5 separate regions of the Homo sapiens genome follow, and regions 2, 3, 4 and 5 are each linked to region 1. The links are contacts of gene promoters, found by promoter capture Hi-C in blood cells and fetal thymus (Javierre and others, 2016). All regions are on one chromosome and are shown on one strand. Each heading gives the region's core, a stretch centred on a gene start or on the middle of the fragment in contact. The rest is flanking DNA. Distances are from core to core; before and after follow the strand shown. Region 1 holds the start of C19orf12 (chromosome 19 open reading frame 12). Region 2 has its middle 87 kb from the start of URI1. Region 3 overlaps URI1 (URI1 prefoldin like chaperone). Region 4 holds the start of UQCRFS1 (ubiquinol-cytochrome c reductase, Rieske iron-sulfur polypeptide 1). Region 5 overlaps URI1 (URI1 prefoldin like chaperone).

What was found. Contacts are between HindIII fragments. The CHiCAGO score rates a contact against its expected background, and 5 or more counts as called.
Region 2: a fragment that was not itself captured here is called in contact with the fragment with the promoter of C19orf12 in region 1 in 2 of 17 cell types (non-activated CD4 T cells and naive CD4 T cells); the score reaches 5.4 in non-activated CD4 T cells.
Region 3: a contact is called between a fragment that was not itself captured here and the fragment with the promoter of C19orf12 in region 1, in 5 of 17 cell types (activated CD4 T cells, total CD4 T cells, naive CD8 T cells and 2 more). The highest score is 6.7, in activated CD4 T cells.
Region 4: the fragment with the promoter of UQCRFS1 here is called in contact with the fragment with the promoter of C19orf12 in region 1 in 4 of 17 cell types (naive CD8 T cells, total CD4 T cells, total B cells and 1 more); the score reaches 7.7 in naive CD8 T cells.
Region 5: a fragment that was not itself captured here is called in contact with the fragment with the promoter of C19orf12 in region 1 in 3 of 17 cell types (total CD4 T cells, naive CD8 T cells and non-activated CD4 T cells); the score reaches 5.8 in total CD4 T cells.

The regions. Positions count from the first base shown.
Region 1 is chr19:29,714,011-29,717,785 of GRCh38, forward strand. C19orf12 (chromosome 19 open reading frame 12) reads right to left here and starts at 1,251. Exons shown (of 3, transcript NM_031448.6): 1 at 1,115-1,251. RefSeq lists a silencer at 786-1,575 and enhancers at 1,746-1,845, 2,391-2,610. The HindIII fragment of the contact is 2,629 bases long and covers 1-2,537 here.
Region 2 is chr19:30,026,872-30,031,638 of GRCh38, forward strand. No RefSeq gene overlaps it. Among named protein-coding and RNA genes, the nearest start is that of URI1, 87 kb to the left of the region's middle. RefSeq lists enhancers at 3,432-3,481, 3,547-4,046. The HindIII fragment of the contact is 1,517 bases long and covers 1,136-2,652 here.
Region 3 is chr19:30,008,528-30,013,412 of GRCh38, forward strand. URI1 (URI1 prefoldin like chaperone) reads left to right here. Exons shown (of 11, transcript NM_003796.3): 8 at 478-826; 9 at 2,567-2,709; 10 at 3,758-4,004. Among named protein-coding and RNA genes, the nearest start is that of URI1, 69 kb to the left of the region's middle. The HindIII fragment of the contact is 3,913 bases long and covers 1,390-4,885 here.
Region 4 is chr19:29,209,849-29,214,970 of GRCh38, forward strand. It overlaps UQCRFS1 (ubiquinol-cytochrome c reductase, Rieske iron-sulfur polypeptide 1), which reads right to left and starts at 3,303. Exons shown (of 2, transcript NM_006003.3): 1 at 3,057-3,303. The coding sequence starts at 3,270. It overlaps UQCRFS1-DT (UQCRFS1 divergent transcript), which reads left to right and starts at 3,405. Exons shown (of 2, transcript NR_184022.1): 1 at 3,405-3,560. RefSeq lists a silencer at 2,897-3,206 and an enhancer at 3,247-3,486. The HindIII fragment of the contact is 13,970 bases long and covers 1-5,122 here.
Region 5 is chr19:29,972,093-29,977,560 of GRCh38, forward strand. The region is part of intron 2 of URI1 (URI1 prefoldin like chaperone); the gene reads left to right. Among named protein-coding and RNA genes, the nearest start is that of URI1, 33 kb to the left of the region's middle. The HindIII fragment of the contact is 5,284 bases long and covers 773-5,468 here.

The sequences.
Region 1 (3,775 bases), core at 1-2,500:
TCTCTTTCCCTCTCCCCTTCCTTCCTGCTTTTTGTTGTTGCTGGTGTTGTTGTTGTTTTTTCCAGAAACGCAGTCTCCCTGTGTTGCCTAGGCTGGTCGGGAACTGGCCTCAAGCAATTCTTCCGCCTCGGCCTCCCGAGTAGCTGGAACTACAGGTGCTATTCCAAGATGGTGAAACCCCGTCTCTACTAAAAAATACAAAAATTGGTCGGGGTGGCTCACGTCTGTAATCCCAGCATTGCAGAAGGCTGAGGCAGGTGGATCGCAAGGTCAGGAGTTTGAGATTAGCCTGGCCGATATGGTGAAACTCCGTCTCTACTAAAAATACAAAAAAATTAGCCAGGCTTGGTGGTGTCGCCTGTAATCCCAGCTACTAGGGAGGCTGAGGCAGGGGAATTGCTTGAACGAGGGAGGTGGAGGTTGCAGTGAGCCGAGATCGCGCCATTGCACTCCAGCCTGGACAACAGAGCAAGACTGTCTAAACAAAAGCTCAACAAACTACCTGCCATCCCCAAAACTAATCTCACCTCCTAAAGCATTAACGACCCTTCCTGACCAAATCTAAACTAGCGCCCAGATTTTCTTCCCATATGGCTCAGCCCAGCTCCGCTGCCCCACAGGTGTCCTGTCAGGATCCGCTTCACATTTATAATACCTAGCACCCCACCCCCAGCCCCGCCCCTGCCCCACCAGCCACCCCCACTCTACCCCACCCCTACCCATCACATTCCGCACCCCACCCCCGCCAAACCCACATCCCCACCCCACCCAACCTCACCCACTCCCACCACATCCACCACCCGCACCCCACCCCCACCCACCACACCCATGCCTACGCCACTCCTGGGTGACAGCGAGCCAGGGCCCGGGACTCTAGTCCCAGCTCTGCTGCTTACTTGTGTGACTTCAGCCTCTCCATGCCTCAGTTTCTCCATAGGGACAATGACTACACTAACAGTGTCCACCCCGGCACCGGGAGGGCCGGGCTCCCGGCAGGGCGGGGACCCTCTCCCCAAGGCACTCCCGGGTCTCCAGGCCTGCTCTTGGGGTGCCCCCTCCTCTCGCGGGGCGCGGCCTGGGAGGCGCCCCGCCCCGGCTCCGGGCGCTCCTTTACCTGGGGGAGCGGAGGTCTACGCGGCGCGCTCGGCGATCAGACGCGGCTGCAGCCCGGGCCTGGCAGGCCCCGGGCTCCCCGCCCAGCTCCCCAGCCCCGCGGAGGGTCGCGCAGGCCTTGGTGGCGGCCCCGGCGCTGGCCCCGCCCTCCGTCCCACCTTCCGGCTGCGCCGGGCCTTCCGGGAAGCCACGCGCCGGGCCAGCTCCTGGCTCCGAGCTGCGCCCGGCCTTAGGGGGAGCCGGGGGTCGCTGCTGGGCACCCCCTCCCCGGTCCTGGCCCACCCCGCCGCTGTCACCGGGGCCCTGGCTTGGGTTGCGGGTGGCGTAAGGAGACGAGGCGCCCGGAGAAGAGTCCTGGGAACCGCAAGGCCGCGCTCCCGCAGGCCCAGCCCTGCCTTTCTCCCACGCGCACGCATGATCACATCCGGGCCCCGCGCACCTGCCTCCAGGACCGCGGGGACCTCCCGGAGACCTCCCTCCCTTTGGCCTGGAGGACCCCTCTCTCCCCGCAGCCTGGGCACAGAAGAGAGCACAGGGGCATCTGGAGGTCAAGGGTGCTGCGTCAGTATTTGGTGAATGTGTGGGCCGGAGCCAGATTTCCTCTGTTCCAGAGCCTGCTCTGGAGCCTCTGGGTCTGGGGGTTGCAAAAGGAGAAGCAGGTTGGGTGGGACTCGTAATCCCAGCTGCCAGTGAGGCTGAGGAGGGAGGATTGCTTGAGCCCAGCAGTTCGAGCGTGGGCAACACAGTGACATCCCATCTCTACAAATAATAATAAAAATTAGGCCGGGTGGGTGAGTCATACCTGTGACCTACAGCATTTTGGGAGGCTGAAGCGGGAGGATTGCTTGAGCCCAGGAGTTCGAGGCTGCAGTGAACTATGATCCCACCACTGCACTTCAACCTGGGTGACAGAGTGAGACCGTCTCTTAAAGAAAGAAAAAAAAGGAAAAGAACTGGCTTTGCTCTTAGGAGTCTTGGATGGGGACCAAAGCTGAGGCAAGGCAGCCTCTTAGGAAGGTGCAAAGGGCATGAGGCTGGGGTTGCAGAACTGCCTGGGAATACTACTTTATTGAGGCCTGTGGAAAGCTGTCCCTACTCTTGTCATGCAAGGTCTGGCCTTGAACCATCTCAAATCCAAAAGTGGCTTCTGGGGGGCTCTATAGAGAATTAATCCTAACAGGAACCCTGCAAAGCAGGCATGGTTGTCACTGCTATATTACAGATGGGAAGCTCTAAACACAGGCTGCTCTGCCCAAGGCCATCCTGGTTAGAAAGTTTCAGGGCCCAAACTCCAGCCTCGGTCTCGGTATCTCAAAGTCTCCGCCTGTGACCAGCACTCTGCCTGCTTTCCAGGGTGCCATGGGCACCCAGAGGACGGACCCTTTTCCATTTTTAAAAGAATGGAACAAACGCTCTTAATACCAAGCTTCCCCAGGCCTTGGCTGGGATAAAACAACCCCATTTATTCCTGAATCGGAGCTTTTGCTTGAGTTTGGGTGACTTTCAAGAGGGAAAGTGAACTGAGGCCAGGGGAACTCAGCTTGCTGCCTTCCTGGGGCCTGAGTGTGGCGCTCCCGTTTCTCTGCGGGCAGCTCCCTCTGGCGGCACATTGCAGAACTGGCCTGCAGACTCCTCCCCCAGAGATAGTGGGGAAGAGGGCCTGTGTAGGGAAAGATGCTGGGAGTGAAAGAAGCTTCAAAGTCCAGGCCCTCCAGAGAAGGCAAGCATGTAAGAGGTTCATGCAGCCCAGCGCGGTGGCTCACACCTGTAATCCCAGCACTTTGGGAGGCCGAGGCGGGCAGATCACCTGAGGCCAGGACTTTGAGACCAGCCTGGGCAACATGGTGAAACCCCATCTCCACTAAACATGGAAAAATGAGCCAGACATGGTTGGTGCAAGCCTGTAGTCCCAGCTACTCGGGAGGTTGAGGCAGGAGAACCGCTTGGACCCGGCAGATGGAGGTTGCAGTGAGCCGAGATCGCGCCATTGCATGCAAATCTGCAACCCATCAGCCTCCTGGGCCTCATTCTGATACGAATGCAGGCATAACATGACCGCACACTCTGAACCCCAGAGATGGAGCACACAGTGCCTCATGCTCCTAAAGGCAACTGCGGCCTCCTGCACAGTGAGCAAGGCGTGCCGTGGGGTCTCGGTGGTGGCGCGGAAATGGCACTGGCCCAGCACACAGCGATGCTTTATGCTGCTTACAGTGACCTAGGGAAAGTTCTTCCACGTCTCCGTGCCTCAGTTTCCTCATCTGGGAAATGGCAACAAGAGTAGTACTTATCCTATAGGGTTGTTCTCAACATAAAAGGAGGTAATATATATGAATCTAGATTATTCTTGTTTACATTACAGAATGTGAAAATGAGCGGCTTCTCCAAAGTCCCATGAGCCTCATGGGCCCAAGGTAGTGGGAAATCCAGTTCTACCCCCACCTTGACAAAACATTCTCTTGCTGATGGGCCCAACAATGCCCTAGGGTGCTAGGTGGTGTTCACACGGCCAGCCAGAGTCAAAACTCAGACGGGGCCAGCGTTCTATGCCCTCACTTTCTCCCAAAGCTGAGTGCACCAGCTCCTAAAACTTCCATGGCTCCTTCAGGCTAAAGCCACCCACCTAGACCAGGGCTGGATGATCCGCAATGTGGGCCACACC
Region 2 (4,767 bases), core at 644-3,143, 310 kb after region 1:
AAGATTTGTAATTGCTATTAAAGTTCTTATTTTAAGTCTATTTAAGTTTTATATTTCTTCTTGAGTCCATTTGATAATTTGACTCTTTGTAGGAATTTGTCCATTTCATGTAAATTATTGCATTTGTCATCATAAAGTTGTCCAAAGTATTCCTTTATAATCCATTTAATTTCTTAAGTTGGCAGCAATTTCCTTTTTATTTTACTTTTTTTGTAGAGACAGGGTCTCACTATGTTGTCCAGGCTGGTTTCAAACTCCTAGGCTCAAGTGATCCTCCTGCCTTGGCCTCCCAAAGTGCTGGTATTGCATGTGTGAGGCACCGTGCCTGGCCTGTGATTTCCTTCTGATTTTGCTAATTTTTGTCCTATATTTTTTGTAATTCTAACTATAGGTCTGTCAGTTTTATTGACCTTTTCAGAGAAACTTTTTGATTTTGTTGATTTTCCTCTAGTTTTCTATTCCAGTGACTTTTACTTTAATCTTTATTATTTCCTTTCTTCTTCCTTGCCTTTTATAGTTTTTAAAGGTGTTAATCTATTGATTTGAGACTACTGTCTTCTAATGTAGGTGTTTAAAGATATAAATTGACCTCTAGGCACTAACCCTTAGCTGCATCCAGTGACATTTGATTTGTTTTAATTTTTCTGTAGTTAAAAATATTTTCTAATTTCTCTTGAGATGTCTTTTTTGACTCATGGGTTACTGTAATATGTATTGTTTAATTTCCAAATATTAGTGGGTTTCTCAAGTTTCTTTCTGTTGGTTCCTGCTTTAATTGTGTTGTGTCTGGAGAAAACATTTATTATGTCTTTAGTTTTTAAAAATTCATTAGGACTTTTTAAAAATGGGTAGCATATGTTCTCCTGTGTGTGCTTCAAAAGAATACGTATTCTGTTGTTTTATGGAGTGTTCTGTTGATGTCATGTCAAGGTCATTGTTATTGTTGTCTTCTGTATTCTTGCTGATTTTTTGTCTACTTGTGCTATCCGTTATTGAGAGTGGGATACTGAGGCCTTACACTATTATTGTTAAATAGTCCTACCTTTCAAGTTCTGTTAGTTTTTGTTTCATGCATTTTTTTCTCTGTTGTTAGGTACATATATGTTTGTCATTGTCATATCTTCTGATTAATTGAAGCTTTTATTATTACAAAATGTCCCTTTTTTCTCTAGTAACATTTTAATTTTAAAGCCTATGTCAGTTTTGTCTGATATGATTATGACCACTCCACCTTGGTTATGGTTATGCTTATGTGGTATCTCTTTTTTCATCCTTTTTAGCATTTGTATCTTGTGGGCAGCATGTGGTTGAATTTTGTTTTTAAAAAGTCTATTTTGCCAGCCTGTCTTTTTATTGAAATGTGTGTTAATTCATGTAATTGTTGATATGGCTCATTTACATATCAATAGCTCATGCCATTTTGTTAGTCATTTTTTATATGTCATGTCTTTTTTGTTCCTCTGTTCCTCCTTGGTTACCTTTTTTTGTGTATGTTAAATAAATCTTTTAGTATAAACTTTGAATTCCTTTACAAAAAGAAACTGTACTTTTTTTTTTTTTAAACCCACAAATTTATTTCTTACATTTGTGGAAACTGGGAAGTCAAGGTTAGCAGCTGATTTGGTTCCTGCCGAGGGCTCTCTTCCTGGGCTGCAGATGGCCTCCTGTGTCCTCACATAGTAGAAGAGAGCTTTACTCTTTTTTATGAGTTATTTTATAGTGGTTGCTCTAGAGTTTATAGGATGCATTGTAACATTATAACCTGCGTCAGAATAATACTAACTTAATTCTGGCAGACTTTGCTTCAGCATAGCTCTAGTCTCTTTTTCCTTTGTCCTATTATTGTAATATATTTTATAACAGTACAGGTTTATTATTTATAACTATATGGGTTCATTATTTTTCCATGCAATTATCTTTTAAGTAAGAGAAGAAAACTTAAAAAGAGTATTTTTTCTATTTTTTACATTTGCCTACATAATTACTTTTACTGGTACTTTAATTTTTTATGTGGATTCAAGTTACCATCTGGTGGTGTTTCCTTTCAGCCTGAAGTACTTGCTTTAGCATATCTTGTAAAAAAAATTTTGGTGGCAACAAATTCTCTTTGTCTATCTGGGAAGATCTTTATTTTTGTCCTCTTTTTTGAAGGATAGTTTTACTGGATTTAGAATTCTTGTTTGACAGTAGAGTATGTTATACCACTTAATTCTGGCCTTCATTGTTTCTTTTGAGAAGTCAGCTGCTAATTTTACTGGGGTTCCCCTGTGCATGATAAGTCCATTTTTCTCTTGCTGCTTTCAAGATTTTGATGTGTATCGGTGTGGATATTTTAATGTTTATTCTACTTGGATTTTATTGAGATACTTGGATATACAGATTTATACTTCTTACTAAATTTGGAATGTTTTCAGACATTAAAAACTTCTATGACTCTTCAAAAGATGTCAAAACTTGTATGGCCCTCACTATTCTTTTCTTCTGGGATTCCCATTATGCATATGTTGGTATTGATTGTAACCCACAGATTTCCTACTTGGTTCATTTTTCATTCTCACTTCTGTTCTTCAGATTGTGTAATTTGTATTGATTTATCTTTGAGTTCACTGATTCTTCCTTCTGCATTCAAGTTTGCTGTTGTCCCTCTAATGAAGCTTTCACTTTAGTTACTTTTCAACTCCAGAATTTCCATTTTTTAAAAAATGTTGATCTCTTTATTAAGTGTTCTCTGATTAGTCATTGTTTTCATGCTTTGATTAAACACGGTTTTCTTTTGTTCTTTGAAGATGTATTTTTATTGGCTGCTTTGAAGTCTGTCTGTTAAGTCCAACATTTGGGAACCCTTGGAAATAGCTTCTGTTTATACTGAGTATTTTTTTTTTTATACTAGATAAGCCATACTTTCCTGTTTAAAACTGGACATTTTAAATAATACATTGTAACAGCATTTATTTCTGATACTCTCCTGCCAGGGGTTATTGTCCCTTTTTTTGTTTGTTTTATGACTTGGCCAAGATTAATAATGAGTTTTTCTCTACAGCGTGTGGCCTCTGATGTCTCTCCTCAGTTATGTTTGACTACTTATGGGTCACCTTGGATCAATATATCTTAGTGATCAGCTGGTGACTGGTCAGAGATTGTACTTAGGCATCTTGTTTTGGTAAGACTTTCATCCTTTGTCAAAGTCTCTGTTTTGTTTGAGGAACACACTGAAAATTTATGCAGTTTACGAGTCTTCCCTGGGGGTATGTATATAGTTAGAGCCTTCTCTGGTCTCTCAGCATGTTCATACCCTAATATGCCCATTACCTTTCAAAATGTAAGCTTATCAAGGACTATGATTGTCTCACTTCCTGATTGTTTCTGTTAAATCTCCAGGCAGAAAATTTTTTTCTTCTGATCTCTTTTTTGGCCCAGCTATAGTATTTCAGCTTCAGGTCATCTATGATGTATGTGGACCTCTCCTATGTTTGGCACTGAAATTGCTATATTTAACAAAGCCCCTGGGCGTTGGGTTTTTCCACGTTGTTTCAGATTGAGTCAGCTCCCTACAGTATAAATGCTTCTGGTTTTACAAGCTGTCCCACCCTGTTAGAACTATTGTCTGAAGGAGCTGGGGTGAGGGAGAGTGGTCACAATGCCACATACTGTCATCATTTTTACCCAACTTTCAGTAGTTTTCTTGAATAAACACTTCTCCATTTGTCCTATGTTTTGGTCAATACTCAGAGGTGAAAAGTAGTTGTTTTTGATAATTTTGTCTAATTTTTTTAAAAGTCTGTTTTTTAAGAGCAATTTTAGATTCACAGCAGTACTGAGCAGAAGGTACAGAGATTTTCCATATATCCCATGCTCCCACACCTGCATAGCCTCCCCTATCATCAACATCCCCACCAGAGTGATACATTTGTTACAATAGTTGAATATCCATTGCCACAGTAGTTGAATATCCATTGCCACATCATCACCCGAAGTTGATAGTTTGTATTAGAATTCACTCTTGGTGGACATTCAGTTGCTTTGGATAAATATATAAGAACACATATCCACCATTATAGTTGCTGAGTAGTCTCACTGCCCTAAAAATCCTCTGTGCTGTGCCTATTCATCCGTCCCTATGCCCCAATACCTGGTAATCACTGATTTTTAAAATTGTCTCCATAGTTTTGCTTTCTCTGGGATGTCATGTAGTCGGAATCACATAATGTTTAGCTTTTTAAGATTGGCTTCGTTCTCCTTTGAGTTTCCATAATGTCTTTTCATGGTTTGATAGATCTGAAAATAATATTCCATTGTCGGGATGTACCGCAGTTCATCCATTCACCTACTGAAGGACATCTTGGTTGCTTTCAAGTTTTGGCAAGTACAAGTAAAACTGCTATAAACATCAGTGTGTGGCTTTTTGTGTGGACATACGTTTTCAGCTTCTTTGGGTAAATACCAAGTGGTATGATTGACAGATCATATGGTAAGACTATGTTTTGTAAGAAACTGCCAAACCGTCTTCCAATCTAGCTGTACTATTTTGCATTCCCACCAGCAATGAATGAAAGTTCCTGTTGCTCCACATTCTAGCCAATATTTGGTGGTGTCACTGTTCTGGATTTTGGCTATTCTAATAGGTGTGTAGTGGTAACTCATTGTCATTTTAATTAGCATTTACCTGATAAAACATGATATGGATCATCTTTTCAGATGCTTATTTGCCATCTGTGTGTCTTCTGGTGAGGTGTCTGTTAAGGACTTTGGCCCCTTTTTTAGTCAGGT
Region 3 (4,885 bases), core at 2,096-4,595, 300 kb after region 1:
TGTTCACTCATGCATATAGATATATTCGTGTGCATATGTATAAATCCTTTATTTTTAAAAATTACAATAATACATGCTCATTGTAAAATATTCTGAGTATAGGAGTAGAAAATAAGTGTGTATTATGTGGTTTCAATTTCTGGTCTTTAGAGATAAATGTTCTCTGAATTTCTTACAACTTTATTATTATTGATACTATATTTATATTGCATATGGCCAATATCTTTCTTGCAAAGATAAAAAAATTATCTTCTATATTCTACTTATGTCTGAATAACCTCAATATATAGAAGCAGCATAGGAACTGTTTTTTGTTAATTTATTTCAAAACATTTTTTTGTTTTTGAACTTAGAATTCTAGTTTTAAAAATACTTTATTCAAGATCTTAGTATTTACCCATGGAAACTAACTGGAAATTTAAATAATGTAAAATTCTAGTATGTTTGTTTGATCTTGTTAATTTTCTTCCTTGCTAGTAAGCCTGATACTGTGATTGCAAATGGAGAAGATACGACATCTTCTGAAGAGGAAAAGGAAGATCGTAACACAAATGTGAATGCGATGCATCAAGTAACAGACTCTCATACTCCTTGTCATAAGGATGTTGCAAGTTCAGAACCATTCAGTGGTCAAGTGAATAGTCAGTTGAACTGTTCAGTGAATGGTTCCAGTTCTTACCACAGTGATGATGATGATGATGATGATGATGACGACGACGACGACAACATTGACGACGATGATGGTGATAACGACCATGAGGCTTTAGGGGTTGGAGATAATTCTATACCAACAATATATTTTTCACATACTGTTGAGCCTAAGAGGGTTTGTATACTTTTAACTTTACTAATTTTGCATATAATTTGAACATTAAGCATTATGATATTTTTTAGAAGAGCAATATTAACAATCATTATCATTGTGGATAGTGCCAGACAGGAAAATCATCTTTTGCCTCTTGTTCTGACCAATTTAAGAAGAAAAAGGGAAAAAAAATTTAGTTAGCTGGTATTGGTCCATTGTTCTCTGAAACAATGCATTGTTTGGGGTCTGGAAGGGGATCAGATTTGAGTGGCAACTACTGTAACTTCACCTGTCCTTCATTCAGAGAGTTTTCTTAAGAATCCTGGAGTTAATTATATTGTGGACATTTTGGTGTGCTTAGGATGTTGAAAGTGACTGCATTAGTTAAATTTTTAATTATGCCAGGTTGTTTTCTATGGACATAAAATGAATACTTCATAGGCACAAAGGGAAAATGTAGGAGGAAGTAAAAATTAGTTTCTTTTCTGACAAAGTAAATATAAACATCTGTGGATAATCATGACTTAGAATTTTGGCATTTTAGAGCTGGGGGTGACTGGAGATTTTCTAATACAGAGTTTTAAAGCTTTTCTCTAGTATGAAAAGCCTTTTGTTCCCTCCATACTTACTGTAGAATCCCAGTATTTAAAATAGATCAAAGCAGCTTGGCTCTGATTGAAGGAAGGATAGGCTGCCTTAAGTCCATCTTTGCCCTCTCTCTGCTCCATGTACTGCTCTAAGGGGACACTGGGAATTCGTCTAATTCGTCTTTCTCAGGGAAATTTAAGGCCTAGAAGACATAGATCTGGTTGGTAACAAAACAGGAACTCTTTCGCCTCTGAGTGCCCTTTCTACACAATATCCCGATTGCCTGTATCAGTTAAGGGTCTGTGGTATCATTCTTAAGTGTGTGTGATTATTATTTAGTGAAATATGTTTAAAACATATTTGATATTTCTTAGCTTCCTAAAGTTATTCCTGCTCCTATATGAAGTGAAATAATTGTTTGTGTTTTTATATTCTAATATGTCAGACTGAAGGGGTCTTCCCCTGATTCTTCGGGAAAAGTTGACTGAGATGATTAGCCAGAAAAAAAGGTCGCTTTTTAATCTTTTGCCAGGCTTTTACTTTTTTCCTGTTTTCATTTAGATAAAACAGAAAGAACAAATATTATTTGCAGGAACGTTACAGGTAATAGTGGTCATTATTGTGGAAAGTATGCTCTAAGTGCTGACTAGGGATAGAAAAATAACATGTTAACCCCATGTGAACCCTGAACAGGCTTGGTTTTTATTTTTTTACTCCTTCAATTTCTAAAAATTAGAGATGTTTTAAAAATTCTAAATAGGCATTATTTAATAGTACTTTTATGACTTAAAGGTTGTATTCTTACTGAATTTTTGTTTATACTCTTTCTTTTGAAATACATAATTCAAGCCAAACACTTATATCAAAGGAATGGGGTGATGGGAAGTTTATAAGAAATCTAGCATTTAGTTCAAATGTATTTTGCTTTCTCTACAATAATAAAGACACTGAAGACTAGGATTTGTTAATAAAGAAGATTTTCTTTAGATGTCATAGATCTATGAGATAAGGACTTTTTAAAAAATTCCATCTGATAATGCACATCATTTCAGCATCAGAAAATTTCAGCTGCCTCTCTTACTATTATTTTTTTAGTTATAGAGTTTATTTGTTTTGGTTTCACTTTGATTTAATTTGTCAAAAGATTCTTAATTTCTTGCTCTGAAATTTTAGGTCCGAATAAATACTGGAAAGAATACCACTTTAAAATTCAGTGAAAAGAAAGAAGAAGCCAAACGTAAACGAAAGAACAGCACTGGCAGTGGCCACTCTGCCCAGGAGCTGCCGACCATCAGGACGCCTGCAGACATTTACAGGTGGGAGGCGCTCACAGCTGCAGGGCAGTCTGCTGGGCTTGCCTCTCTTTCTGCCACTGAACCTTTACTGGAGAAAGTTGACTGTAACACAGAAGACCCTCACTGAAAAGTGAAGTGTTCTGAGGAGTTAACTTAGGATCTGATAGGCTGACCGGCTGTAGCTTCCCAGTCCAGAGCAGTGGGAATGGAGGATTTTTTTTTTTTTTCACTTTCTCCTCTTCACCAGTGCTTTTGAAACATTTCCAAATGGTCTAGTCAGAAAATCTTGTATCTTCAGAAAGCATTTTTGTTTCCAGTGGGCTAGGTCCCTACGTTTCTACCACAGCCGTAACATGCTTGGCATGCAGTTTACCTTTTCAGAGTAGAAATTATACTGTTGCAGGTTTTTTTTTTTTTTCCTTTTTTTTGGAATTGTTTGTTGAGAAAACTATCACTTGAAAATACCTACTGTTTTTATGACCCTTATTTATAAATCAGTGAAAATTGCTAAATGTATACGTGGGTCTAAAACTTTATGTAGAATTTTGGCAAACCATGCTATTGCCACCTAGGACATGCTTAAAAATAACATGCTGTGTTTTTGTTCTCACTCATAGGTGGGAATTGAACAATGAGAACACTTGGACACAGGGTGGGGAACACCACACACCGGGGTCTGTCATGGGGTGGGGGGAGGGGGGAAGGATAGCATTAGGAGATACACCTAATGTAAATGATGAGTTAATGGGTGCAGCACACCAACATGGCACATGTATACATATGTAACAAACCTGCACGTTGTGCACATGTACCCTAGAACTTAAAGTATAATAAAATAAATAAATAACATGCTGTGTTTTATTATTAGGCCAGAGAAATAGCTTTCAAAATAGTATGAAGATACCATTTGAGGCTATAAAATTATTGTGATTGTGACTATTTTAGATATAAGATTGTAATAAAAATTTTCAGATTAATTTCTAGAATAGATTCAAGGAAATTTTCAAAAAGTTGTTCTCAGTTTTATGAGTTACGTATAGTGAATGCATATGTGTTTTGAATATCACAGAGCCTTTGTTGATGTTGTGAATGGAGAATATGTCCCTCGCAAATCCATCCTGAAGTCTCGAAGTAGAGAGAATAGTGTGTGTAGCGACACTAGTGAAAGCAGTGCTGCTGAATTTGATGATAGGCGGGGAGTTTTGAGGAGTATCAGCTGCGAAGAAGCCACTTGCAGTGACACCAGTGAGAGCATTTTGGAAGAGGAACCACAAGAAAATCAAAAGAAACTTTTGCCCTTATCAGTAACACCTGAGGTGTGTGTGTGTATCTTTTAATTCTTTATTTCATATAGTATCTTTGACCAGTTTTAGCTATTTAATCTGAAAAGTCATAAGATTAAATTAATTCTAGGTTTTATACTTTCTTGGTACTAATTAATAAAAAATTAATAGTCACAAACAGTACAAATATTGTGATAATCAAATAGTTTATTTTTTGATAAACACATTACTTGTCTTAACGTTCTATTTCAGCAAAATGGGAAATTTAAAATGTCTTACTTGGCATTATGTATTACATTTGTAGCTAGGAAATTATTTCGCAGTTTATTTTAAATAAATTACCAGTAGGTCATTTTCTGATAGTGTAAGGAGCAGATTACATTATTCTCTTTTAAATACCTTGGCTAAGTTAAAGAAAAATAATGCATGCATAGCAGATAATTACCTAAAGTCTAATATTTTACCTTGTACCAGTGAAACTTAACTCTTGGGGGATTATGGAATTGTTTTATAATCTGATGAAAGCTGTAGACCCTGTCCATAGAAAAAATAGTGCACACTCAATACACTTTCACCCACCACACTTCTTACAGTTTTTGGTGGTGGTGCAGGGGAGGTTAGGAAATCCCCAAATAAGGATGTCTGTGAAATATAAGGCTATTGATTTCTTCATTCTTGTGTTTTGGTGCGTATTTGAAGTTTTCAATTTAAAAAGTATTTAGGAAGATTGGGGAACCCATGCCTGGATCAAACCAGTGTACACATTTGTATATACAATAAGATACATGCATATATATAACCTTATCTAAAAATTCCATTGCTTTTACTAAATGGTATTATACTCAGTGTATTAAATGGTAATTGGGGATGGAGATTGGTAGCATTTAGGGACAGTACATATGACTAGAATGTTT
Region 4 (5,122 bases), core at 2,053-4,552, 500 kb before region 1:
TAAAATGGCTTTGCCCTTCTCATTCAGAGATTTGGTGGCAAAAGTCTCCTCCCACTCTATCTAGCTGGTTACACTTTAGTAGGCTACACCACCAAGAATCCTTTCGGAAATTAAACTGCCCTGTTGCAAAAATCATTCTCCAAATATTTACATGAGCTGCATTAGGTCTGACTTTCAGTAAGATGCTAGATTTAATTCTAACCTAAAGCAAAATCAAATACTTAAAGGAGAAAATTTAAGGAATTTTAACAAAACAAGTTTTATTTTAAGGTTGAGCTCCAATGCGCCTTGGAAATCTGCATGAAAATAGTACAACCTTCCTCTCCAATTCAAGAATCTTCTCCAGATCCAACCCCTCCACTCCCATAAGCCATCCTGCCATGAACCATCTAGACAGACTATAATGTGAACTTAAATTACAGGCTGAAATGATTACAGAAAAGGTTTTTGCCTTATGGTTCTACATTATTTGCCTGTTTCTAAAAATAGTTTCTCTAAGTCAGGTAAACCTCCAATTTTTTTTTTATTATACTTTAAGTTTTAGGGTACATGTGCACAATGTGCAGGTTAGTTACATATGTATACATGTGCCATGCTGGTGTGCTGCACCCATTGACTCATCATTTAGCATTAGGTATATCTCCCAATGCTATCCCTCCCCCTCCCCCCACCCCACAACAGTCCCCAGAGTGTGATGTTCCCCTTCCTGTGTCCATGTGTTCTCATTGTTCAATTCCCACCTATGAGTGAGAACATGCAGTGTTTGTTTTTTGTCCTTGCGACAGTTTACTTAGAATGATGATTTCCAATTTCATCCATGTCCCTACAAAGGACATGAACTCATCATTTTTTATGGCTGCATAGTATTCCACGGTGTATATGTGCCACATTTTCTTAATCCGGTCTATCATTGTTGGACATTTGGATTGGTTCCAAGTCTTTGCTATTGTGAATAGTGCCCCAATAAACATACATGTAAATGTGTCTTTATAGCAGCATGATTTATAGTCTTTTGGGTATATACCCAGTAATGGGATGGCTGGGTCAAATGGTATTTCTAGTTCTAGATCCCTGAGGAATCTCCACACTGACTTCCACAATGGTTGAACTAGTTTACAGTCCCACCAACAGTGTAAAAGTGTTCCTATTTCTCCACATCCTCTCCAGCACCTGTTGTTTCCTGACTTTTTAATGACTGCCATTCTAACTGGTGTGAGATGGTATCTCATTGTGGTTTACAGGCAACCTAAAAATTGGGAGAAAATTTTTGCAACCTACTCATCTGACAAAGGGCTAATATCCAGAATCTACAATGAACTCAAACAAATTTACAAGAAAAAAACAAACAACCCCATCAAAAAGTGGGCGAAGGACATGAACAGACACTTCTCAAAAGAAGACATTTATGCAGCCAAAAAACACATGAAAAAATGCTCAGCATCACTGGCCATCAGAGAAATGTAAGCCTCCAATTTTTTGAAGAAACTTTAGCAACACGACGAATTCCAAAGATGCTTTTCTTTTGCTATTGAAATGTTCTCCTTCCTTCCTTCTCACCTCCAGGTCCCAAGGATGGGCTAGGGTACTCTACACCTGCCATGGACAGTTTCTTCAAAACCCACTGATGCTCCTTAACAAATATTCATTCACAAATACTTTGCACTAACTGTATACAAAATCCGACGTTGTGAAAGATAGAAAAATAAAGAAGATATTACCTTCTCTATGCCCTTAAGCCCAAGGGTGGAGGAGTTACCAATAAACACAATACAGAGTGTAAAGTGTATGTGCTACAGAGACAGACAAATCAGCAAATAAAAACTTTATTCACCTGATCCTTAACTGAGATTGAAAAGATGGGTAAGGAAAACATATGGACATGTAGCAACTTAGTGGAAGGACCATGAAGAAAGTGCAGAGCCCAGGGTGAATGAAGACAGAGTAAAAAGAAAAGTGGCGGGCAATTTGGTTAGCGTGTAGGGGAAGAGTCACAAACAGCTATCAGTGGAGCCAGGCTGGTAACAGAATGAAACACGCAGACCTGGTAAAGACTGTGACAAACTGGAGAAGACCACTTGCTCCAACTGCGGGGGCGGCCACTACACAGCACACTATGGAATTTTCCCAAGTAGAAACTAGATCCCAGTATTACCGGCTTCCAGCATTTTAAGAGATGCCATTAGTCTTCCCAGTTTTTTTGAAAACTACACAGCCTGCAGACACACTGCCCACAGGCTGCCATTTCTCTATCTCCGATACAGGGCCAAGTAAAGATGGAAGGCGAGGCAAAGAAGATAAACGGGGATCTAAGGACAGAGGGTGTGGAATAGCCCCTGCGAAGAGCTCAGTGGCTACGACAATTCGTCTTGTCAAATCCCTGCTACCACATGTCCACACCACGGATCCTGGTGCGAGTCATTCTACCTCGTCTGTTTTCTCATCTGTAAAATGTAAATGTCGTCAATCTCTGCCCGTCCTTGACGACTGATTATGTTGTGACACTACACTGTAACTGACCTTGTGTATGTTTTTTTTGTTTTTTTTTTGGTGGGGGGGTGATGAAGGGGAAGGACATGAAGGGATCGGTAGTGGTGAGAAGACCAACTTCCCAAATATTAGTAAGTTTCCATTTCTTAAGCATGTAAGTGCCCAAACTGTGCTAACGGCTTTACGTAGAATTCCTCCACCTAAGCCTCACGACACCCCTACAAAATTGATAAAGATATGAATCCATTTCACAGGAAGTACGTTTAGAAACTCGCCCAAGGTCAAACGACCTGCAAGCAACAAAACCCCTCAGAGGTGGCTGGAACAGCGGGACTACAGAGCTCGTGAACTCGGCCGAGGAGGAACCAGGCGAAGCCGGCGGACGCGAGTCCAGGCCGGCCACCAGAAAGACGCCCCGAGCCCGGGGGCCAGGCCCAGAGTTGCGGAGGCCGCCCAGCCCGACCTGATTCAGGCTCCGCTCGCGCGCCCGCGGCCGCTCCCTGCTGGGGGCCGGAGGAGCGGGCACCGAGAGACCCCCAGCCCTGCTCGCGGCCCTCGCCCCGGCTCACCATTGAGGCCCACGGAGGCGACCAAAGGCCGGCGCACGGCCTGGCCGCTCAGCGACTCCCGGCTGAGGAAGGGCCGCTTCAGGTCCAACACAGGCTGCTCCGGGGTGGCGGGCACCGTGGCCTGCACCAAGGGCCGCAGCGCGCCCGCCACCCCGCGGGACGTGGCCGACAGGACGGGCGCGAACGGGCCTGAGCGGGATGCTACCGACAACATGGCGACAGCCGCTCCAACCGCCAAGCCGGTCACAGGGACGACCTTCCAACCACGGCGCAGGCGCGAGGAGGCGCGGGACGCGTGACGACAGCGCGCCGCCGGAAAGGAAATTCTGCAGTCCTGCAGGGCGGGGCAAACTTGGAGAGGCGCTGCGTCGGGGGACGGGGCTACAAGCCGTCGCTGGGGGCGGGGCTTGCGGCCCACCTGTAGGTCCCGGTGCCACCTCGTCAGTGTCCCGAGAGATCCCCAGAAGAACGAGAGGGCTGAACAGGGGACCCCACTGACGTCCGGTGGGCCGACTTTACGATCCTTTAGGGTAAAAATTTCATCTAGGAAGACCTAGAGATAACAATAAACGATTATAGTTTAACTTAGGATGGTAATATATCTCAACTACGACGAAGTCCAGCACATAGTAATCGCTATGTGTTTACTATGATGATTTTTATTATCTTCATCTAACAACAACAACAACAAAAAGGCCAGAGGCATCTGTGCAAAGCTCGATAATGCTAATGGATTATGTTTATTAAGTATTCACTGTGTATTTGGTTTTGCGTTTTATTATACCTACGTTCTTTCATTTGTTATCAAGGTCTCTATGAAGTCAGAGCTATTACTATCAGCATTTTACCCATGAAGAAACCGAGGTTTAGAGAGATTCTTTTCCAGGAACTGGATAGCCAGCAAGATGTGAAGCAGGGTAATCTGTCTCCTGAGTCTATGCTCTTCAGTGCCACCACTGTTTCCCAAAGTAGGATTTTAGAATTTTAGAGGATGCACAGAGCTCGCTCATTCATGTTCCATCACATAGTGAGAAAGTTTTGTTTTCTTTTGTTTTGTTTTTCAATCCTGATTGCACCAATGAGAAAGTCTCAGTTTGGTGCTAATACATCTTTAATTAAAAAAAAAAAAAAGTAGAGATGAGGTCTCACTATATTGCCCACTCCAGTCTCGAACTTCTGGCCTCAAGGAGTCCTGTCTCCCCCTCCCAAAGTACTGGGATTATAGGCATGAGCAAATTCACTTGGCCTCAGTTTGATCCTAATATATCTTTAATTCCTCTCTACACTTATCTCCCACTTTTAACAGAAAAGATCTTGAGTTAGAAGCTCTTAGCAGAGAACTGAGTCTAGAGTGATTTCATTATATGGTTCATAGTATTGATTTTCTATCCATACTGGTTTTCTATTCTGTACTATACTGAGATAAAGTTTTTCATTTAGGTCAAAAATAATTTAAATATTAAGTAAATGTTAATATAAGCAGTGCACAGAATTGGCTCTGTGCTGTGCATGGGCTCTGTGATCTGGGCAAGTTCCCTCACCTCTCTGTGCCTCAGTTTCCTCACCTGCCAAATGGGGGCAGTAATGATGCCATGTGTGTTGTAAAGTTACTGGGAGGAGTAAATGAACTAAAACGTGTAAAGCATCTACAAGCAGGCCCAGCACACAGGCAGCACCAAGTGAGGATTTGCTAGTGGTGTTTTTATCTGAGATGCCACCTCCTCTAAGAAGCCTTCCCTTGATCCTTGCTGACTCGTTGTTATTCCTCATGCCAGGTCCAAAGTGTACTGACAGGTTTCCCCTTTGACCTTCCTATGACTCCCCTTAGGGCCTAGGCTTTGACCAGCCTTATAGCCCAAGGGACTATATTGTACTCTCAAGATTGGAGGCTGCCTCCTCAGGGGCCACCCTAGCCAGGCTCATCACACAGCTGGCTCAGTGCTCTCCCTTGGCAACAACCTTAGGATAAAAGACATTTCCAGAGAAGTTGTCACACAGCATGCATGGTTTGAGTGCTTCACAAGAAATAATATCACAATTCCCTCTGAGTTGGTAAGGAAATGAAA
Region 5 (5,468 bases), core at 2,165-4,664, 260 kb after region 1:
TAGTGTATATCAAATGTTTTTTGGTTTAAATGCACATAGGCTGCAGGCAGTGGATAAGAGTGAAAATTGGTGCAATCTGTACACATCATCTTATTAAATTTTGACTATTGGCTTGCAGAAAATAATCTAAAACTAATAATATCCACTTTATAAGTAAAAATTCAGGACTTCATTAATTTTCAATAAATGCATCGTTGTAGTTGCTTCCACTGGTGGTGTAAGTGTGTTAGCATTTCCATAATGGACCATTCGCCTTTCATTATACATTCAGTTCAGGTTAAAACTTGAAATACAAGTCGTTGGCCAAAGAATTTTTTCCCCTGCACATTTAGTCAGAGTGGCCCATTTTACAAATAATTTCCAGAGGAAGTTTATTAACGTGGACTTCTGTCTATTGGTTTTGGTAAGAAGTTCAGGAAATTAGAAAGGTATTCACTGGAAATAGATGCTAGTTTACATAAATGGGTGAATGGTAACTTGCTTCTGGTTTGTTTTATAAGATTCTTATTAGAGTTCTTTAAGGATAAGGGCACGTTTTCATCCTTTTATTCACAGCCCCTACTGCTATGTTTGGCACAAAATAGGCACTTGATAAATGTTTGAGTAAATGACCAAATATGTGGTTATTTTCTATATAACATTTTAGTTTACAAATACTCTAGTAGTGCACAAGTCTAGTGAGCAGTGACAGAAATGTGACATTTACTTCATGGCAGGTTCATGTGACCCTCAATTTCACTTTTCAGTTTTGTAAAACCCTCTAAACTGTAGAAGCTTAGCATATTTGCCTACACATATCTTGAAGTAATATAGTACTTTATACATTTAAAAAATTATTTTTTTCCAGTTAAAATTTGCATTTTCCTCTGAATCATTTCTGGTTTGGTTCAGGAAACAGACTTTTCTCTTTGCTTTTAATGAAGATCTATACATGGTATATTGCTCAAATCTGAATGGCCAGTAAATTAATCAATTCATTATATCAAAAAATTGAAACCAAAGTGTCACCATTTCCCTGAAAGCAAGGAAATTGCTGTTTGGGAGAGTCGTGGAATTCTTGTGATATTTTTGCATTCTCTTAATTCCTCAAACAATAGTTGAGTTTCTACCATATGCCAGTATTGTGCTGCTGTTTGGAATTGAAAGACCCTGCCATAGAAGAATTCATAGCCAGACATATAACAGGGAAATCACGATAATTTTGTGCTATTTGCGGAGATATGAAGCAACTACAGGAGTTCAGAGGCTGGAGCCGTTCTTAGGGTGTCTCACACACTACTTTTAAAAGCATGTTGCTTTAATTCCTACTTAACCCTTGGTATTAGCCTAGTCTAAAATATAATTTCTGTTAAGCCCCTATTCTTTATGAGTACGCACCAGTATAGTAAAGAAGAACAAAATATATGGTTTGAAAAATGCATTCTTATGCTGGTGATGTTTATGCTTGTTTGTATAATTTTTAAGGGATTCTTTAAGGAACAAGTATATGTATTCTAGGCTCAGAAATAATCTAAATTGGTTTTTGTTTAAAAAAAAATGTAGGACAGGGAGTAAAAATATTTATAGAAAAATAGGAGTGAAAATGGTCTGGGACCACAGGATCTACCCAAAAAAATCTTTGAGAAAATTAATTTAAATCCTAGAACTTTGGTGAACGAAGAAATTTATAATATTTGTTTAGTTAATAACAGATAAAAAGGAAAGATTCAAGCCTATTGGATGAGAATTTGTACATTATTTTAGAGCTAATAATAATGGTTTTCAGTTTAGTGAGGATTTAAAAAATGTTTTTGAATCAAACTTTTTTTCTTTATAATCCTTTTTAACTAACTCAGGAAATAAGGTATTATGAAATCCACACACTGTTACCTCCTTAAAGTATGAGGATACTTCCCACTGTTTGGTCCACTAGTGGCTGATTATTTTGTTTGTGGATTATTTGTAATTTTCTTTTTAATTCTTCCTTAAAGAGCATGGCATTTGGAGTCACAGACCTATATTTGAATCCTGTCATTTACTAGCGTTTTGACCTTGAACAATTATGCTCAGAGTCTCAGTTTTTTCTTGTAAAGTGATGATGATACTACTTAACTCACAGGGTTGTAGTGAAGATCAAATGAGATCATGTCTGTAGAACACCCTGCCCGGCACTCAATAAGTATTAATAGGAACCCATATACCTCTTTTGAAAATTTTAATTGTCAGACAAATAAAAAAAAAAGCCAGTGCTTTGTAAATATTCGTGAATATTTAGTGTTCATTCTGTTTTTTTGTCATGATGGAGAGAGAGTTGGGTTTCTGTGAATTACTGTTACAGCTTTACATTAATATTTTTAAATCACTTTTTGGTATGAAGAATTTCAAATGAAAGGTGATAGAGTAGTATAGTGAATCCTCATGTACTCATCAGTCGGCTTTGATAATCATCAACTCATGATTTTCTCTAAACTGTTCATTTCAACATCTTATCTTGCCATCTACTCCTACCTCCAATTTTTTTTTAACTTTTATTTTAGATTTGGGAGGTACATGTAGAGGTTTGTTGCAAAGGTGCATTGCATGATGCTGAGATTTGAGGTACAATTGAACCCATCACCCAGATAGCATAGTACCCAGTAGGCAGTTATTCAGCCCTTGCCCCTGCCCTTTCTCACCGCTCTTGTATTCCCCAGTGTTTATTTGTTCCCATCTTTATGTCCATGTGTCCCCAGTGGTTAGCTCCCACTTATAAGTGAGAATATACAGTATTTGGTTTTCTGTTTCTGCATTAGTTCGCTTAGGATAGTGGCCTCCTGCTGCATCCATGTTACTGCAAATATTTCTTCTTTTTTATGGGTGTGTAGTAGTCCATAGTATATATGTATCACATTTTTGTTATCCAGTTCACTGTTGATGGGCACTTGGATTGATTCCATGGCTTTGCTATTGTGATCATTGTGGTAGTGAACATACAGGTGCATGTATCTTTTTGGCAGAATGCTTTTTTTTTTTGGGTGGTCTGTATTCAGTAATGGATTGCTGGGTTGAATGGTTGTTCAGTTTAGTTCTTTCAGAAATCTCCAAACTGCTGTCCACAGTGGCTGGACATTCCCACTAACAGTGTAAAAGCATTCCTTTTCTTTGCAGTCCTGCCAACATCTGTTCTTTTTTGACTTTTTAATAAAAACTATTTTGCCTATCCCATCTCCAGTTTTGAAATGAATCTAAGCCGTATCATTCCATCTGGAAATATTTCAGTATATATCTTTAAGAGACAAGAAAGACTATATATTAACTTTTTAAGATTTAAATAAAAAATATTTAATGAGACAATACATTTACATGTTTCAAAATTTAGGAGGTATGAAAGGATGTAAATGATGTATAGGTTCCTCCTAACTTTGTCCCCTAATTCTCAGTTCTGTTTACTTTTTTTTTTTTTTTTTTTTTGAGATGGAGTCTCACTCTGTCATCCAGGCTAGAGTGCAATGGCATGGTTTCGGCTCACTGCAACTTCTGCCTCGCGGGTTCAAGCTATTCTCCTGACTCAGCCTCCGAAGTAGCTGAGATTACAGGCGCGTGCCGCCATGCCCAGCTAATTTTTTTAGTATTTTAGTAAAGACGGGGTTTCACCGTGTTGCCCAGGCTGGTCTCGAACTCCTGAGCTCAGGCAATGCACCCTCCTCCGCCTCCTAAAGTGCTAGGATTACAGGTGTGAGCCACCGCACCCGGCCCCTCAGTTCTGTTTTCTGGAAACAGCAGTTTTTTACCAATTTCTCATAAATCTTTTCAGAAATGGTTTGCATAATGTAAGTGTTTGTGTATGTATGTGTGTGTGTTGTGTGTGTGTATTCATCTACATGTTTATATACGGCTCCCATCCTTTTGGACAAAAATGAAATCAGATTGTACCTGTTCATTTAATACTATACCTACCCTGTATCATTAACTAACAGTTCCTCTTTACCTCATTCCATACATTTTGCTGTATGTCAGACATTTAACTTTTAGGATTACTAAATGAGACCTGGAACTATTTTTTTTTAAATAAATAATTGCTACATGACTGAGAGTATAGCTCTGAACTCAAAATATATCCTTGCTAAGATGATATATCTGTTATTTTACTGCTCCTTAGTAAAATTACTGCAAAACTTAGTGGCTTGAAACAACCACCATTTACTTGCACATGATTCAGTGGGTGTGCATATTAAGCTGGGCTCACCTGTGTGGTTCTTCTGCTAGTCTTGTGTGGGCTCACTGCTTTGGTTGCAGCCAGTTGGTGGCTGGGTCAGCTTTGTTGTCCAGAATGACCTCACCCTCAAGTCTGGTGGTTAGTGCTGTTGGTTGAGCCTCTGCCTCCATGTGCTCTTTTGTCCAGCTTACTTTCTATGGGCATCTCAGCAGCAAGAATGGAAGCTGCAAGGCCACGTTATGTTGGTCAAAGGAAGGGCCAGCGCAGATTCACAAGGTGGGAAGATAACACCCACCTGTTGAGAGGAGGCGTGAAAAAGAATTAATGGTCATTTTTAATGCACTGCAATGACTTTATTGAATAGGTCCTACACACACAAAAAGGAAGTCTCCGTCCTTTATGTTGACTGGTGAGAATGAAATGAAATAGTACATGTGATGCCTGGCAGTTCATCTTTATGTTAGGCATTACTTACAATCGTAAATCGTATGCATGTGAGTTGTAAAAAATTTATTGCCTTGCTTCCTTTATTTTAAAAGGATTTTTGGTAAAGGTATCTTTGAAATTACATGAAACAGACTTAAATATAGAAGAAGATACTTTGTTCAGGTGTTTAATTTTGGAAAGAATACTTTAAATTTAGACATAAAAGTTCTAAAACACTTTGGCATGTGAGTTTTGAGAGAGTCTAAAGCAAATACTCAACATTTTTTTATTTTTCAAAGGAAACTGGACAAAAATAATTGTTCAGAGGAAAAGAGTAACTAGCTTCCATTAGAATTTATAGTTAAAGTATATAGTAGGAAATAACCAAGAAAGCATACCTGTATAGCTAAAAATCTCAGGTGAAGATTTGATTTTCTCTCTCTCTTTTTTTTTTTTCCTGTTGGAGCTACTCTTTCCTATCAGTCGGGATGGAGATACCTGCTTTATGCACACATTGTATATCTGTCTATATGTCTCATGTTTTTGAGGCATTCCTTGTGCACAGAAGCACTGAACTATATCATTGTAACAATGCCATGGTTTACAGTATATTTCATATGAATACCTGAAACTGTTTTCTTGAGTTGCCTTCACATGCTATATAAAATTTATTTTATTATGTATAATATGTGAAATATTGATCTGCATACCTTTAAAACTTGTAAAAGCCAATGACTTTTTTCTACAGTGTTAGGTAGATTTGTAAACTGTGTTTTTCAGAGTCTGTATTTTACTGACTACAAAGTTTTCAGTCACTGTTTTGTAGAGGGCCTTCTGTTTGGGCTTTTTCTTTATGTTATTTTTTCTT